Regions from separate parts of the Homo sapiens genome. Here region 1 is linked to region 2. The links are contacts of gene promoters, found by promoter capture Hi-C in blood cells and fetal thymus (Javierre and others, 2016). All regions are on one chromosome and are shown on one strand. The core of a region is centred on a gene start or on the middle of the fragment in contact, and the rest is flanking DNA. Distances in the headings are between cores, read along the strand shown. Region 1 overlaps NRDE2 (NRDE-2, necessary for RNA interference, domain containing). Region 2 holds the start of TTC7B (tetratricopeptide repeat domain 7B).

Region 1 (7,625 bases), core at 3,645-6,144, 510 kb after region 2:
TTTTTCCCCTTCCCTTATCATTTTCATCTAATTTGTTATAAAAATGCAGCTGTTAGTTTAAAGTCAGGAAACAGTAAACATTTTTCAAGAGATTTTATGAATATCTAAAATACTGTATATTTTTTGTGAGACTAATGAGGAATCAATACTATTAAAAGAGGATAAAGGAGAACAAAACTAGCTTTTTAACTTAAAGTTTGTTCCTTAGGGAATGGCAGCCTTGTTTAGAACTACATTAGTGCTATTTTTTTTTTTTTTGAGACCAAGTCTCACTCTGTTGCCCAGGCTGGAGAGCAGTGGCTTGAGCCCGGCTCACTGCAACCTCTGCCTCCTGGGTTCAAGTGATTCTCCTGCCTCAGCCTCCCAAGTAGCTGGGATTACAGTCGTGTGCCACCACGCCCAGCTAATTTTGTATAGTTAGTAGAGACGGGGTTTCACCATGTTAGCCAGACCGATCTCAAACTCCCGACCTCTGGTGATCCACCCGCCTCAGCCTCCCAAAGTGCTGGGATTACAGGCATAAGCCACCACACCCGGCCTACATTAGTGCTATTTTATCTCATCACACCTTTGTTAAGGTTGTTTTTGACTCATAAATGGAATGGCAAGAGACTGTCATGAGATAGTCTGAAAGAATTGGGAGGGAGGCTAGATAAAAGGTTTGAGAGAGAATATTTATGTCTGTGTGAGAAAATAGTCCCCTACAGTGGAATTTGCTGTGTTTGGTCAGTGAGGAGGGCAGAGGCACTTAGAGAGGGGACCTGTTGACCGCAGAGAAGCCACAGAGGTGAGGGAGAGAGCCCGGCCCTGAACCAAGGTGAAGTGGAGCGGAGCTTCCTGGGAGCTGACAGAAGATGAAGGCAGTTCTCCCCTGCCTTTTTCTCCCCACGGCATTTCCGGTTTTATTAGGAAAAAATTTTAATATACAGCAAAAGTTGAAAGATTTTTACAGTGAATGCTCGTATAACTGCCCCCTACATCTACCATTAACTTTGTATCCATTAAGTTTGTATTGTACTTGTTTTGTCATATGTGTCCATCCATCAGCCCATCCTATTTTTTTGATGCATTTCAAAGTAAACTGCAGATCAATAAACAACCCCCTAAATACTTCAGCATGTGTATTATTAACTAGAGGTCAATATTTATTTAGTTTTATTCCTTTAATTGAAAATTTACATGCAATGTAATGCACAAAGCTTCATTCTCACCCGAACCTCTGTTAAAATGTGAAATATTACTCTGACCGCCAGAAGTTTCCTCGTGCTCTTTTCTGGTAAGTCTGTACCCCATTCTCCCAGAGGCAATCACCGTTCTTACTTGTTTCCACCCTCAATTCGTTTTTACCTGTTCTAAAATGCATGTAAGTGGAATTATACAGTGTGTACTCTTTTGTATCTGGCTTCTGGCTTCTTTCACTCAGTGTAATGTTTTTGAGATCATCCGTCCATAAGGCACTTACCAGTAGCTCCTTTTTACTGCTGGTAGTATTCCATTGTATGGCTGTACCTCTGTTTACTTATCCATCTTCTATTGATGGACACGTGGACTCTTTCAGTGTTTGGCTGTTAGGAATAAAGCTGCCGAGAGCATTTGTGCTCATGTCTTTGTGTAGACATGTGCTTTCCTTTTTCTTGGGTAAATATGTAGGAATAGAATTGCTGGGTCATAGGTTAGGTCTGTGTTGAATTTTTTAAGAAACAGCCAGATCTTTTCCCAAAGTGATTATACCAGTTTACATTCCCGCTGACAGCGGATGAGAGTCCTGGTTACTCCACAGGTTACTCACCAACATTTGGTGTTGTCAGCCTTTTAAATATTAACACTGTTCTAGTTGGTGTGTGGGGTACCTCATTGTGGTTTTAATTTGCATGTCCTTGTTGACTAAGGATGTTGAGTTGTTTTTTTTTTTATGTGCTTATTGGCTATTCATGTCTTCTTTTGTGGAATTTCAGTTCAGATCTTTTGCCCGTTTTTAAAATTGAATTGTTTGCTAACATACATACAGAAAAATGTACAATTTTCCTTAGCTTTTGCCTGTGCAAATATTCAGTAGTCATGTGTTTGTTAACTCTGGGGACGCCTACATGTTCCATAAAAGCGTTTTAGAACCCAACCTCTTTTCCTCTAGAGTAGAAAATAACCAAATGTAATTTCATTTGACATACTTTGTTTCAGGATTAAAAAAAGAATCTTAGGCCTATATGTTATCTTCTTAAGTAGGGACACAGGAAAATATTGAGAAAACAGGACTGGTCTAGGAAACAGATGATCCAGGTTCCCAGGCCTCAGTGTCCTTATTTAGGAACAGTTAAGAGAAGGGATGATAATTTTTGCCTTGCCTGTCACATATGGCTGTGATGATCAAATGACATAATGTGTGTGACAGTTCTTTACAAGGCTCCAGGAAAATAGAAATTACTAAGATCTAGAAGACAGGCATGATCTTAAATTCATGAGATGTTAAAGAAGAGTTGAAGTGTTATAGGAAGAAGTCAAGCCAGGCAGAAAGAAAGTTAATTACTAGTCCTTGTGTATCTCCAAATAGAAACAATCTGAAGGTGAGGTGAATTTGGTTATATGCAGTGAACCTGCATAACGAGAGTTTAGGTCTAATGCGCCTTTAGTCATTCAGAGGTAGTACACGTATTCCCTCAGTAACTTTTTTTCTTTTTCTAATATCAGATACAAGAGGAAAGGAGACTCCTGCCTTGGCATTAACCCTAAGAAGCAGTGCATATCTTGGGAAGGGACTTCCACAGAGAAGAAGCATTCACGCAAGCAGGTTGAACGCTATTTTACTAAGAAGAGTGTGGGATTAATGAACATCGATGGAGTTGCCATTAGCAGTAAAACTGAACCTCCCTCATCTGAGCCCATCTCCTTTATACCAGTGAAGGACTTGGAAGATGCGGCTCCTGTTACAACCTGGTTGAATCCTCTGGGGATTTATGATCAGTCAACCACACATTGGCTACAAGGACAGGGTCCTCCAGAGCAGGAATCAAAGCAGCCAGACGCACAGCCAGACAGCGAGAGTGCGGCTCTCAAGGCCAAGGTGGAGGAGTTTAACAGGAGGGTGCGGGAGAATCCTCGGGATACGCAGCTGTGGATGGCATTTGTTGCTTTTCAGGTATGTGTTGCCATCCCAATTCTCTTACCTTAGAAGGACATTCCTGATTTTGGGCAAACTGATGGACTGTGCAGCAATTTTTGAGCAAATGAGGAAATTTGACACTGGGCATACAAAGATTATTAGAATAGAGCCTTTGCCCTGAGCTCGCTCAAAGTCCAATGAGGAAAATGGACATGCGAAGAATAAGTGCACCCTGGGGTAGTAAATGCTGTAATGTATAACTTGGGAGTGGAGTGAGGGAATGGCTTGTGTTGAGGGAGGAGAAAGAGCTACCAAGGAGAAGGTGAAGTTCAACACAATCTTGAAAGAAGAGATGTTCACCAGGTAGGGAGAGGCATTCCTGAAGTACAAACAGAACAGGCAGAGCTCACGGAATTGTGAAAGAGAGAGGGCTGTTCAGTGTATTACCCAGTTAGAGCCATGCATTCTCTTTCGAAAACTTGTAGGTTTGTCTGAATCCCTAATTTTGAACCACTCATACAATTACCATATTTTGTGCCACATTTGGCCCTTTTATTGGTAAGGTCTGCTCTTCAGAAAAGACTTTCAAGGCATTGTATGCTAGTCATTGATGCAGAAATCAAAGCTTAAAATGGCAGAGAGTGGATAATTAAGTGATAAATACAAGATCAAACATATCAGGTGACACAAGCACTTTAGGATCCAGGTTTTCTTTAAAAGAAATAGTGGCAAACTGGTGGTTTAAGAAAGTCCCTAGGGGGTGGTAAGAAAATCAGTAAGCATTGTTGAAACTCAGGATCTCCCAGGTCCATTTGCATTTGTAAATTGGTGTTTTTGTTGTTGAGGACGAGGTCATGAAAAGTCCTGGCCTGTATGCCATCGAGGAAGGAGAGCAGGAAAAGCGAAAGAGGTCCCTGAAGCTCATTCTGGAGAAGAAGCTGGCCATTCTGGAGCGGGCCATTGAGAGCAACCAGAGCAGTGTGGATCTGAAACTGGCCAAGCTGAAGCTCTGCACAGAGTTCTGGGAGCCCTCCACTCTGGTCAAAGAGTGGCAGAAACTGATATTTTTGCATCCCAATAATACAGCCCTTTGGCAGAAATACCTTTTATTTTGCCAGAGCCAGTTTAGTACCTTTTCGATATCAAAAATTCACAGTCTTTATGGAAAATGCTTGAGCACTTTGTCTGCTGTTAAGGACGGCAGCATCTTATCTCACCCTGCGTTGCCTGGCACGGAAGAGGCCATGTTTGGTAAGGAGATAACCAGATCCAGTTACGTGGGAGGAGTTAGACTTTCTTTTGGCTTTACTTGAAAATGAAGATCTATTTTTGATTTATTCTAGAAAAAGTCTAAATTGTTTGATAGAACTGATTTTTTTAAAAAAGTATTACGACTCTTTTTGATAACAAATTTGCCCCCAGCTCCCAGGGCAGGTGGGGGCAATAGGGCCAGTAGAGTTAAGATATCACTGGACAAGGTTCTGCTGATTAGCCAAGTAAACATAGGCAAGTCTCTTAACTGCTTTGGCAGTCGGTGGCCTTATCTGTCGAGATGCATGTACCTGTCTCACCCAATTGTAGGGTCCCAGGCAGTAATGTCCGTGAGATGCCCTGACTGGGAACCACTGCATAAATAGAAGTTTTGGGTATTATTATGCTGTTAACATTTTTGGTGTGTCCTGAAGGAACCTGGAACATTAATTTTGACAGTAATGAGATGTTGGAGGCTGCATGTTATGCAGAGCCAGAGAGTATCACTTTTGACCTTGAATCCTGAAGGGTTTGCCCTTCACTGGCTCTCTTGTGTCCTTGGGCAGGTCCTCTTTGAGCCCCAGTTTCTCCATCAGCAACAATACTATAAACCTGCTTTACAGGACTGTGTTGCACAGTAAACGAGATAATCCATGGCGAGTCTAGCTCAGTGTCCGGCACAGAGCAGGCATTTATTTGATCACAACCCCTGTTATTGAGTATTAATTACTGTTGGCATCTAAAGATAGAAATACATTGCTCTCAAAATATAAGCATTTATCACACTGACACAGAGTCTTGAATTTGTCACTGTATGTGATCTACACAAATAGCTTAGTGTTATTTAGTAGCTGGAATTGTACCAAAAGTAAGATGAACTGGAATGTTCAGACATGGAACCTTGATTTGTTTACAGCCGACTCTGAACATAGGATGAAAGTTGCTGGTGAGTAATGCCATCTAGTGATCAACTGAATACAGCTCTTTGCTTTCTGATAAAAATCTGCTACGCCATCCTTTTTCTATAATTTTTCTTGTGATAATGAGCTGTGATTATTTGATAGCATTCAGACCAACCTCTTGACTTATTTTTATGTACTATATATAGTTTTTGTTGTTAATATTTGTGTTCTGTGATGCTTTCATACAAAAATTAGAACAAACATACTTGGATTATAATACTGTGTGAGACGCTTTAAATCAAGACATGTATCACAGCTTTGTAAATTAATAGTGATTGCAGGTGAAAGGTGTTCTCAATGTGTTAATTGCCTGTTTTGAGAAGTTAGGTTCTTTCCCTTTAACGGTATCAACCAGGCTTCTTCCCCTTTGCCCTCCTGTTCGCAGCACTCTTTCTTCAGCAGTGCCACTTTCTGCGGCAGGCTGGCCACTCTGAGAAGGCCATCTCATTGTTCCAGGCCATGGTGGACTTCACCTTCTTCAAACCCGACAGCGTGAAAGATCTGCCTACCAAAGGACAGGTACCCAGCTCTGCTCGCCTCATCTCTCTCTTCCTGGCTCTTTCTCTGGAGGGAGAGGGGGAAGGTGTGGATAATGAGAGGTGGTGTGGATAATGAGAGGTGGTGTGGTAGTGTTTTTAAAATATCATATCCTCCTTTATATCAGTCTGCTGAGGAGGAATTCTCAGAAATAGTCCAGTGATCTGAGGAAAGTTTTGTAATGAAAATGGTGAGATGTGGATAGGTAAAGAAGCTTCCCCCTCCTTCACAACATAAAGGCTCTCTGAGGACTCACCCTCCCACCCTGCCTGCCTGCCTGCCTGCCTGTGTTCCTCCTTTCCTTTTCCTTTCCCTGCCCCCTTCCCCTCCCCTTCCTCCTCCCCTCCCCTCCTCCCCCCCATCCCCTTTCTGCCTTTGTTTAAATGCTGATTGGCTCCCCTAGTCAGGGAAACAGTTGTCATGCCATTTTAAACCTTGTATTACTCTCTTCCACCCTTACACATTCTAGTTTGGGTCTTGCATCACTTCCTCAGTTAACCTTCTAAGTACCCACAATCTTCGCTAGAGTTGCAAATGAAATTACACAGAGATACCTTGTCAACAGTGATCCTTATTGGGGAAGGGTTAATCCTTTAGATGACAAGCGAGCATTGCCAATGTTTGAGATAAATGAAGATAAGTGAAGAAATAAAGAATTTTTATAGAGCTATGTATATAAGAAAATGTATCTTTTCCCTTTTTCCACTAAATAAAACTCAGTTTTCTACTCTGTAAAGATGTCTAGTGGAAGATAAATAGAATATATGAGTTTATGGTGAACATTCAAAAGTGTTTCTTGAGAGGCCAAGGCCTCCGTCATGTGGGAGTTTCATGAATTGCCAGTAAAGACCATTTTTATCATGATGCTACCTCTAGAAAAAATTGGATTAAAGAATTATACCAGTTAAATTGCTATAATCAATCATTAATAAACCATATAACAGAGTAATTTTAAGACATGCTGTGAGATTTTAAGAATAGGCTGTACTACAGAAGTGATTCTCAGCTGACTCTAAGGAACCTTGTGGGTCAGGATCAGAATTTCTCTCACCCCCTCCCCCTGCCCCTTTCCTAAGACCCTCTGTGATAAGAACAGAGTGATGGGTGGAGGGTTCTGCCTACAAATGTGACCCATCGAAGACCACTGCTCTAAAGTGTTGGGAGACCCCGATCCTCGTGCTTGAGGTTTTAAACACGAATAGCACATGTGATTCCAAAGCATTTACATGACAACTTTGGAATAAAGTTTCTTATTTACTAATATTCCATATTGCTTTTATAACTGAGAGACGTTGTTACCGTGAACACAGTAGCGTGATTTAACACAGGCAGGTCTGATATTACTGGTCTGCGTTTCTGTGGAATAAACAAATAGATTATACTCATTTATCACACTATTTAAAAAAAATTTTTTTTCTTAAGTAAACTTTCTTTCTTCACTCTTACAAGAGCCAGACCTCTAAAGAGGGAGCGTAGTCGTCCTGGTTCCCCTTTCTGAGGATGACTGACGTGTCAGGACGTTTGCCCTGCCCTGACGTGACTCTCCTGGAGGCAATACTCCTCCAGGCGTGTGTGGCATTGCCCAGGGCTCAGGCTAGATAATCCTGTGGCTCATGGCCCATGCTGTGCCCACTGGAAGCCTGCTTGTCCTCTTCAAAAGGTTTCTTACAAAAGCTTTCACTGAGTAGGTTATTGGCTCACTTTCACAGTCCTGTTTCCAGTTGATAACATGATCACGTTTCTGTTCATTGCTGTGTTCACATTCTGTTCCATAGGGA
Region 2 (7,411 bases), core at 421-2,920:
GGAGTGCAGTGCTGCCATCTCAGCTCACTGCAAACTCCGCCTCCCGGGTTCACACCATTCTCCTGCCTCAGCCTCCCCAGCAGCTGGGACTACAGGCGCCTGCCACCACGCCCGGCTAATTTTTAAAAATATTTTTAGTAGAGACGGGTTTCACCATGTTAGCTAGGACGGTCTCGATCTTCTGACCTCGTGATCCGCCCACCTCGGCCTCCCAAAGTGCTGGGATTACAGGCGTGAGCCACCGTGCCCAGCCAAAAGCCAAGGTCTTATAATGGCCCACCAGGCACTACACAGAACTCCCCCCAACCTCTCAGAGTTCATCTCCTGCCTCGGCCCCTCTCCTTCGCTCCACCCAGCCCCTCTGGCCTCTGCCATTTCTCCATCCCACCCAGTGTGCTCTAACCCCAGAGCCTTCGCACTTGTGGTGTTCTCTGCCTGGGATACTCCTCCCCCAGAGATATCCTCATGGCTCCCCCTTAGTTTCTTCAAGTCTAATGCCACCTCCGTGAGGCCATCCCTGACTGCTCCATTTTAAATGGCAACACTTGCTCAGGCTGAAGTGCGTTCACTGCTCACTGCAGCCTCCACCTTCTGGGCTCAAGCAATCATCCTGCCTCAGCCTCCTGAGTAGCTGGGATTACAGGCATGAGCCACCCGCCTGTCCCAACTCTTTATGTTCCTCACTGAACCCTTCCCTGTTTCTTCAAATAGCCATTTTTACAGTCTAGTTTACTATTTTATTTTGCTTATTTTTCCCCCAAACTGGAATGTAAGCTCTCTCAAGCCAGGAATTTTGTTTTTTTAGCTCACAATTCTATCTCTGGCACCTAAAGCAGCGCCCAGCACATAGTAGGTGATCACTAGACAGTTGATTCACTGAGAGAACACAGAGGGACACCTCCCTAGGTCTCAGTCTAGGTGGCCAAGACAGGAGGCCCCACCAGTGACTGTGCCTTCCCCTCAGGGGGTCCGAGAGCTGGCGTGTGAGAGTGGCAGCCCCTGCCTGGCTCCGCTCAGCCATCTAGGGCACCCCTGGCAGGTGCTGTGCCTTGCCTGGGATGGAGGAGTCTCCGTCCACCTCTGGCTGGGTAGGGGCTAAGGCTGCGGGGCAGAGGGGCATCTGCTAAGGGGCACAGGCCAACCGGGCCCCAGGGAACCGCTGGCCACCTGAGATGGCAGGACAAACTCGGGCAGGCCTCCCCCCACCCCTCACACCTGGCTCACTGGTCCCACCGGGCGGTGACCTTCCCCAGGGTCACTGCCCTTTCTTGGCCCTACTCCTGGGGATCCAACCCGCTCCCAGGCTGTCGCTAGCTCCCTCCCGATCCTCTCCCTCCCCTTCATCCTGCCCAGACCCCTACCCCACCAGACCCCTCACCCGCCCTTGGTCAGATCTCTCTCCTACCCCGCTCCCCCACCCCCATCCCCACTTCCCCTCGGTCTTCACCCCGCCCCAGACACCCCCAGTCCCTCTCCCTGTCCTCCATGCCCACCCCGCCTTTCCTCCCTCGGGCCCCTGTCTCCCGCCCTAGCCCCCGCCCCTGCCCCAGCCCTGGCTCCGGCCCCGGTCAGTGCTGCGGCTCCGGCCCTGGCCGGCAGGGGCCGCTCCTCGCGGCGCCCGGGGCCCCGCCGCGCCCGCCGCCGCCGCCCGCCTCCCCGCCCCTTCCCCAGCCGGCGCTCCCGTTACGCCGCGGAGCCGGGAGCCGGAGCCCGAGCCCGCGGCGGCGGCGGGAGGCGGCGAGGGGGCGCCGCGGCGGCGGCGGTGGGGCCTGCGGGGCGGGCGGCCGGGCCCGGCCAGGCCGCGATGGCGACCAAGAAGGCAGGCTCGCGGCTGGAGACGGAGATCGAGCGCTGCCGCTCCGAGTGCCAGTGGGAGCGGATCCCTGAGCTCGTCAAGCAGCTGTCGGCCAAGCTCATCGCCAACGGTACGCTCCGGGCGCGCCGGCCTGGGCTGCGGGGGGCGCCGCGGCCTCCGCGGGAACGGGCCCCCGAGGCGCGGCCGGGCGCGGGGCGCGGGCAGGGGCGCGGCCGGGCCGCGAGGGAGCTGCGGCCCAGGGGATGTGCGCGGGACCGGGGCCTGGGGGAGCCCGGGTGCCCCGGAGTCACGCGGTGTGGGGGCCCGGGGGGGCGCCAGGGGCTGTCCCGGCGCCTGGGGTTCAAGCGTGCAGGGCGGGCTTCTGCGGAGTCTGGGGTGTCCGGGGGTCTCAGCGAGTCCGCTGCTCCACTGGGACCACAGGAGGTCAGGGGCCGGCCTGGGGCTTCCAAGAAGTTGGAGGTGATGGGGTGAGGGGGTCCCTCAGGACATGGGTGAAGTCCACAGTGTGTGTATGGTGTGCTCAGGGAATCAGGATGTGTTTATGGGGTCTTGAGAATGGGGTGTTGTACATAGACCCCTGGGGAATCTGGTTTGTAAACATATGGTGTTTAAGGGGTTCTGGGTGGAAGCGCAGACTCGAGGTGTGTGGGGTGGTGGTAGAAAGCAGGCTGGGATGTGCGTCCTGGCGTTCGGAGAAGTAGCATCAAGGCTGCCGACCTAGAGAGGTCAGGGTTGGGAATAGAGGAGAAATAGAGTCAGGGGGACCTGGAGGGAGAATATTGTGGAGCGAGATGGGAATGTGGTTGAAGAATGTCGGGAGATGGAGTTGGGTGGGTGAGGGGTTGGTGCCTGGGCCAGAAGGGGGTCTGAGGCAGCCTCTGAGTAGGAGCCTGGTGCCTGGAGTTGGTTCATGACCCCTTTAACTGGATTGGTTCTTGTACCCAATCAAATAAAATTGCATCCAGAATCCCATTCCAGTGCACAGCTCCACGTGGCCTTATTTGTTTTGGAAGCGAGTATCTTTAATATTTGCTTGTCTTTTAGTACCCGCCTAAAGCGCAGGCACCAGCACACCGTGGCCAGAGGGCAGAGGGTTTGTCTCATTTCATCCTGGGCTTCCCCAGGCCCAGTGAGCACATGTTGGCTGAACAAATGAATGAAAGAGTGAATGAATGGATGGCGGGGCTGCTCTAAGAAAGGACATCTGCACTATTTTCAACCTTCTCACTTCAGACTACCCAGAAAGGAGAGGGATGTCAGGTGTCCTCCTGGAGGGTGGTTTATGTTTGTGTCCTATGGTATTAGTGCCTGGAAATTAGAACTTGGTTTTGCGCACTCTCAATGATGGATGCATGCTGTGGGCAGGTACCTTCTGGGTGAACGCAGGTGCCATGGTGTGTCAGGGGCATGGAGATAGCACCGACCCTACACGGGCTCCACTTGGTGGAAAATGTGGACCCTTCTCAGTTATGTCAGCCTTTGAGGAGATGGTGTTCAGTGCCCTGGGCCCCAGAGGCAGCTTGCCTTTGCCCTCCGTGTCGGGCTCACCTGCTTCTCCGCTTACCTGCAGCATTTTCTCTTTTCCTCTCGGAGTTGCACAGTCCTGGGTCTACTTTGTGGCTTCCCAGCGGTGTAGGCATAATGACACCTTCTGTGCAGGTTGATTTTAGGATTAAATGGGTTTATTTGTGAGCCTCCTGGTCTTTTTTCTTCTGAATCCACTTGTTTCCTGCTGTCTTTGCTTATTCATTCACCCAATATTTGCGTGCCCACCTGTGCCAGTCACAGAACAGTGGTGAACAGCACTGACCAAGCCCCTGCCCTTATGCCCTCACCCTGCTCTCAGGAGGCAGGTGATAAGCAAATATGGAAATAAATAAACAGCACAGCTTCAGATAGTGAGAAGTGATTGAAACAAAACAGATGAGTTAATGTGATTGAGAATGACAGGCAGATGAAGGGGGACTCAAGCTATGATGGTCCCTGGAATGAGAGGGTAGATGGGTTTTTGGTGGCCTGGGCCCTTCCTATTCACCTTCATGGCCCCCGAAAGGCTTAGCTCTCTTCCCAGGGGCTGCTCCCAATGTCCTAAGATGCAGTCATGAGTGGGGCTTGGGGATCGGGGTTTGCGGGGGCACTGTGGTCCATGGGTCTGTGTGCAAGTTCAGTTTGGGGAAACTCATGGGACATAGATTTTTGTCCTAGAGACTCACATGGTGAGTGGTAGCCATTGATGGCAAAAAGTTACCCGGACTTGAAAAGATCAGACAGAGTGAGTGCTCAGGAAAATAAAACGATGAAGCCAAGAAAAAGATGAAACTAAACTAGAATGATTGTGGCTCTCCTTTGGTGTTTGCAAGAGGGGCCTTCCCTCCGTTTGACTGGTGAGGCCTTCCCACTCTCGGGCTGGTAGAGGGACTTCTTCCTGGCTTTTGGGGGCACCGGCTCCCCCATAGATTCTCGGGTGCATGAGCACAAGTTCTGGGCAGATTTTGCAAAATCCTGAAGTTAAAGCATCTTCTGCTTAGAATAAGGAAAGCAAGTGAATGTCACGTTTGTCACACTAAGACAGTTACCATGAAAACAACCACAGGCGAAAAAAAAAAAAAAAGAATACAGTGTTTGGAGCCAGCCAGATGGGGGACTGATTCTTGTGACCTTGGCCACTTCTTGACTTTGTGACATTGGCCAAATCACTTAACCACTCTGAGCCTCAGTTTTCTCATTTTAGAACGGGATTTAAATGACTTACCTTGCAGGGGTTGTTATGAGGGTTAAAGTAGCTAATGTCTCTCAGGGCCAGCCACTCATTCCTTCCTTCCTTCCACAAAGATTGAGTACCTGCTCTGTGCTAGCCACTGTTTTAGGCACTGGAAATACACTGGTAAACAAAACAGACAAAAATGGCAAAAATCTCAGCCCTTATGAAACTCACATCCCAGTAGGAAAGGGGCAGGGAGACAGATAATCAATATAATCATTAGGTAAAGTTTACAGGGTGTCAGATGGTGGTCAGTGCTATCAAAGAGAAAAAGGGGAAGGTGAATAGGTGCTTTGGAGTGGGCTGGGAGTGGGGGTTGCAGGAACTACTAGTTTAAATAGGGTGGCCCTGAAAGGTGTCCCCAAGAAGGCAACATCTGAGATGAGACCTAAGGAGGTGGAGAAGCATGTTCTAGGGAGGGAACTTCATGGGTAGAAAGTGGCGGGGCCTGATAGGCCGAGGGTAAGGCTTTGGCTTTCCTGTGAGTGAGACAGGGCTATGGGAGAGTTCTGAGCAGAGGAATCCCTCCTTCCCAAAGCTCCCACTTGTAGTGGGCTTCCCCACCCAGCAGCATTAGCTCCTTACGGGAAGGAAGCGTGGCAGCCCCTCCCCGTTAAGGACTCTAAATAGTGGACACTTTCAGAGTGTACTGCCCCAGCCTGGCTCCTTTGAGATGAATTGGTTTAGATGTTTTGCCAAGAGGTGGATAAGGAAGAAAAGGACAAATGCCAAGTTGAAAAGTGAACCCAGAGGTCTGTCTTCTTCCTCGTACCCTACCGTAGTCACCATTTTCATTGCACCATCTCAAAAAACCCAAATGTGGTGGAACCTAGCTGTGCACCAGACCCGGGTGAGTCCCACTGAGAGAATGGTCACCTAAGTTAAGGGTGGGGGTGGGAGACAGTCCCCCGGAAGCCTAGGCCCTCGTGGGCTGAAGTGTGGCCTGGGGATGAGTGGCAGGGGCACCACCGGGAACCTGTGAGAAATGCGGATTCTTGGGCCGGCTTCAGACGTGCAGGGTTAGAATCCACATCTCAGCAAGGTGTCCAGGGGTTTGGGGGACTCAGAGAAGCCTGAGGTGCCCTGGCTTGGAGCTGAGGCAGCAGCCTGAGCGCTCAGGGATAAAGACAGAGCTGCACATCAGCTTCATGTGGGCTCACAGGTCGGTCCTGGTCTCTGGGAGGACAGGCCCAGCTGTCCTCTCTCTACAGAATGTCACCCTCCAGCCTCCCAATGATGAGGTCACCACTGTGTGTGAAAGTGCAGTGACCTGGCACCGGGTCTAAAATTTGGACCTTACCTGTAGTGGCTAGGTGATCTCCAGCCAGGTTCTTAGCCTCTCGGAGCCTGCCTTTCCTCCCTGCTCAGCCAGCTCAGAATGCCCACTCTCAGGGCACGTGTGAGGATTCAGTGGGATGGTACCTGTCAGCCAGGGCACATGGTCATAATGGGGTTGGTTCCCTGCAGCTGACCCCTTGTGACCCTGGGCAAGGTAGGCCAGGTCCCAGCTGTCAGCCTGGCAGGGAAAAAAGAGAGTGGGGGACCAAGAAATGACACAGTTGAGCTAGTGCCCGGTCAAGACTCCCACCTATTGCAATGACAAACAGGCACATTGGAGGTCTGCGACTGTCCTGACGGACGGCTGCTCCCTTTTCTGAGGCAGTGTGGCTTCCCGCCTTCCCCAGCCTGTTAATCTTCTTAGGCAAGCTCGGCGACTGAGTTCACTTAGAAAGATTAGGCCCCAAATGGTAGCTTCTCCCTTAGGAGATCATTGCCTGTCGGATCCTATAAGATTTTGAGACATTTTAATTACCTCGTGGTGACGGGTAGGTAGGGAAATGGTGCCTGAAACAAAGAGTATTTCTGGGGCATAGTTTGGTAAGCAAATGTTTTCAGGCCATGAAGAAGAGGATGTGGAGATCTGTGTTGTTTTAAGCACGGGCATCCACAGTGATGTGGCTTCCCCTTGGTGGAGGGTGCAGGGTCCTGGGCTCCTAGACGACACCTGGTCATGCACACCCTCCTGTGAAGAAGAGGAGTCGGGGTGGACTATGGTCCTCCCTGGCTGGCCTGAGGGTCTTCTCTGGAAACAGGACTGAGGTTTAACTGAGAGTCACTGCTGTGGGGTGAGGCAGCCCCTGTTGTTTAGAGGTGGCTTCTTTGGACATACCTGGGGCATCACAGACTCCTGGGAGCCCAACTCCTCCCAGAATGTGGGGAAGGACACCAGTGAGATCTCTGGTGACCCACTATTATGGCCTTTCTGGGCCAGTCTTCCTGCTTTCAAACACTCTGTCCTCTTGTCATCAGAAGACCACACCTTTGTGGCAGACCATATGTCCTGATTTTTGGATTCAGAAGACTCATTTATTTGACAGTGACTGATTGATGGCACTGAGCTGGGATTGGGGCTCGTGGCCATGGTAGTCAGGGCAGAAGGATTTGGATTTCTTGTGGCTGTGCACAGTGGGGCTGGGGCTGTGCAGCTCGTCCTCAGCCTCATCCATCTGCTTGGTCTGGCCAACCTTTCCAGCATGTCCTTATGTCACCTGCTGCACTGCCTTCATTCCCCCGACTTCCCTCGGCTACTTTGGCCTCCTGGACCCTCCCACACACCTTGCTTATTGTCTGTGCACCTTTGCTCACGCTATTTGACTCTGGAATCCTCTCTGCAGATCAAAAGCCTACCCATCTGTCAAGGTCTGGTTCAAGTTTCTCCCAGCTGTCCTTTCATCACAGAAAAGGCTGTTTGCCTTACAGAAGACAATCATACAATGTTAGAACCAGAGAAGACCTTACAGATTATGCTGTGTAGCAGTTTTCAAACTGTGCTG

The links. The method cuts DNA at HindIII sites, captures the fragments that hold promoters and counts their contacts. A CHiCAGO score of 5 or more calls a contact.
Region 1: a contact is called between a fragment that was not itself captured here and the fragment with the promoter of TTC7B in region 2, in 4 of 17 cell types (endothelial precursors, M1 macrophages, erythroblasts and 1 more). The highest score is 8.6, in endothelial precursors.

What each region holds. Positions count from the first base shown.
Region 1 is chr14:90,299,443-90,307,067 of GRCh38, reverse strand. It overlaps NRDE2 (NRDE-2, necessary for RNA interference, domain containing), which reads left to right. Exons shown (of 14, transcript NM_017970.4): 5 at 2,686-3,133; 6 at 3,943-4,348; 7 at 5,696-5,829. Among named protein-coding and RNA genes, the nearest start is that of NRDE2, 29 kb to the left of the region's middle. RefSeq lists a silencer at 3,969-4,263. The HindIII fragment of the contact is 2,339 bases long and covers 3,725-6,063 here.
Region 2 is chr14:90,810,689-90,818,099 of GRCh38, reverse strand. It overlaps TTC7B (tetratricopeptide repeat domain 7B), which reads left to right and starts at 1,670. Exons shown (of 20, transcript NM_001010854.2): 1 at 1,670-1,925. The coding sequence starts at 1,805. RefSeq lists a silencer at 1,497-1,676. The HindIII fragment of the contact is 10,969 bases long and covers 1-7,411 here.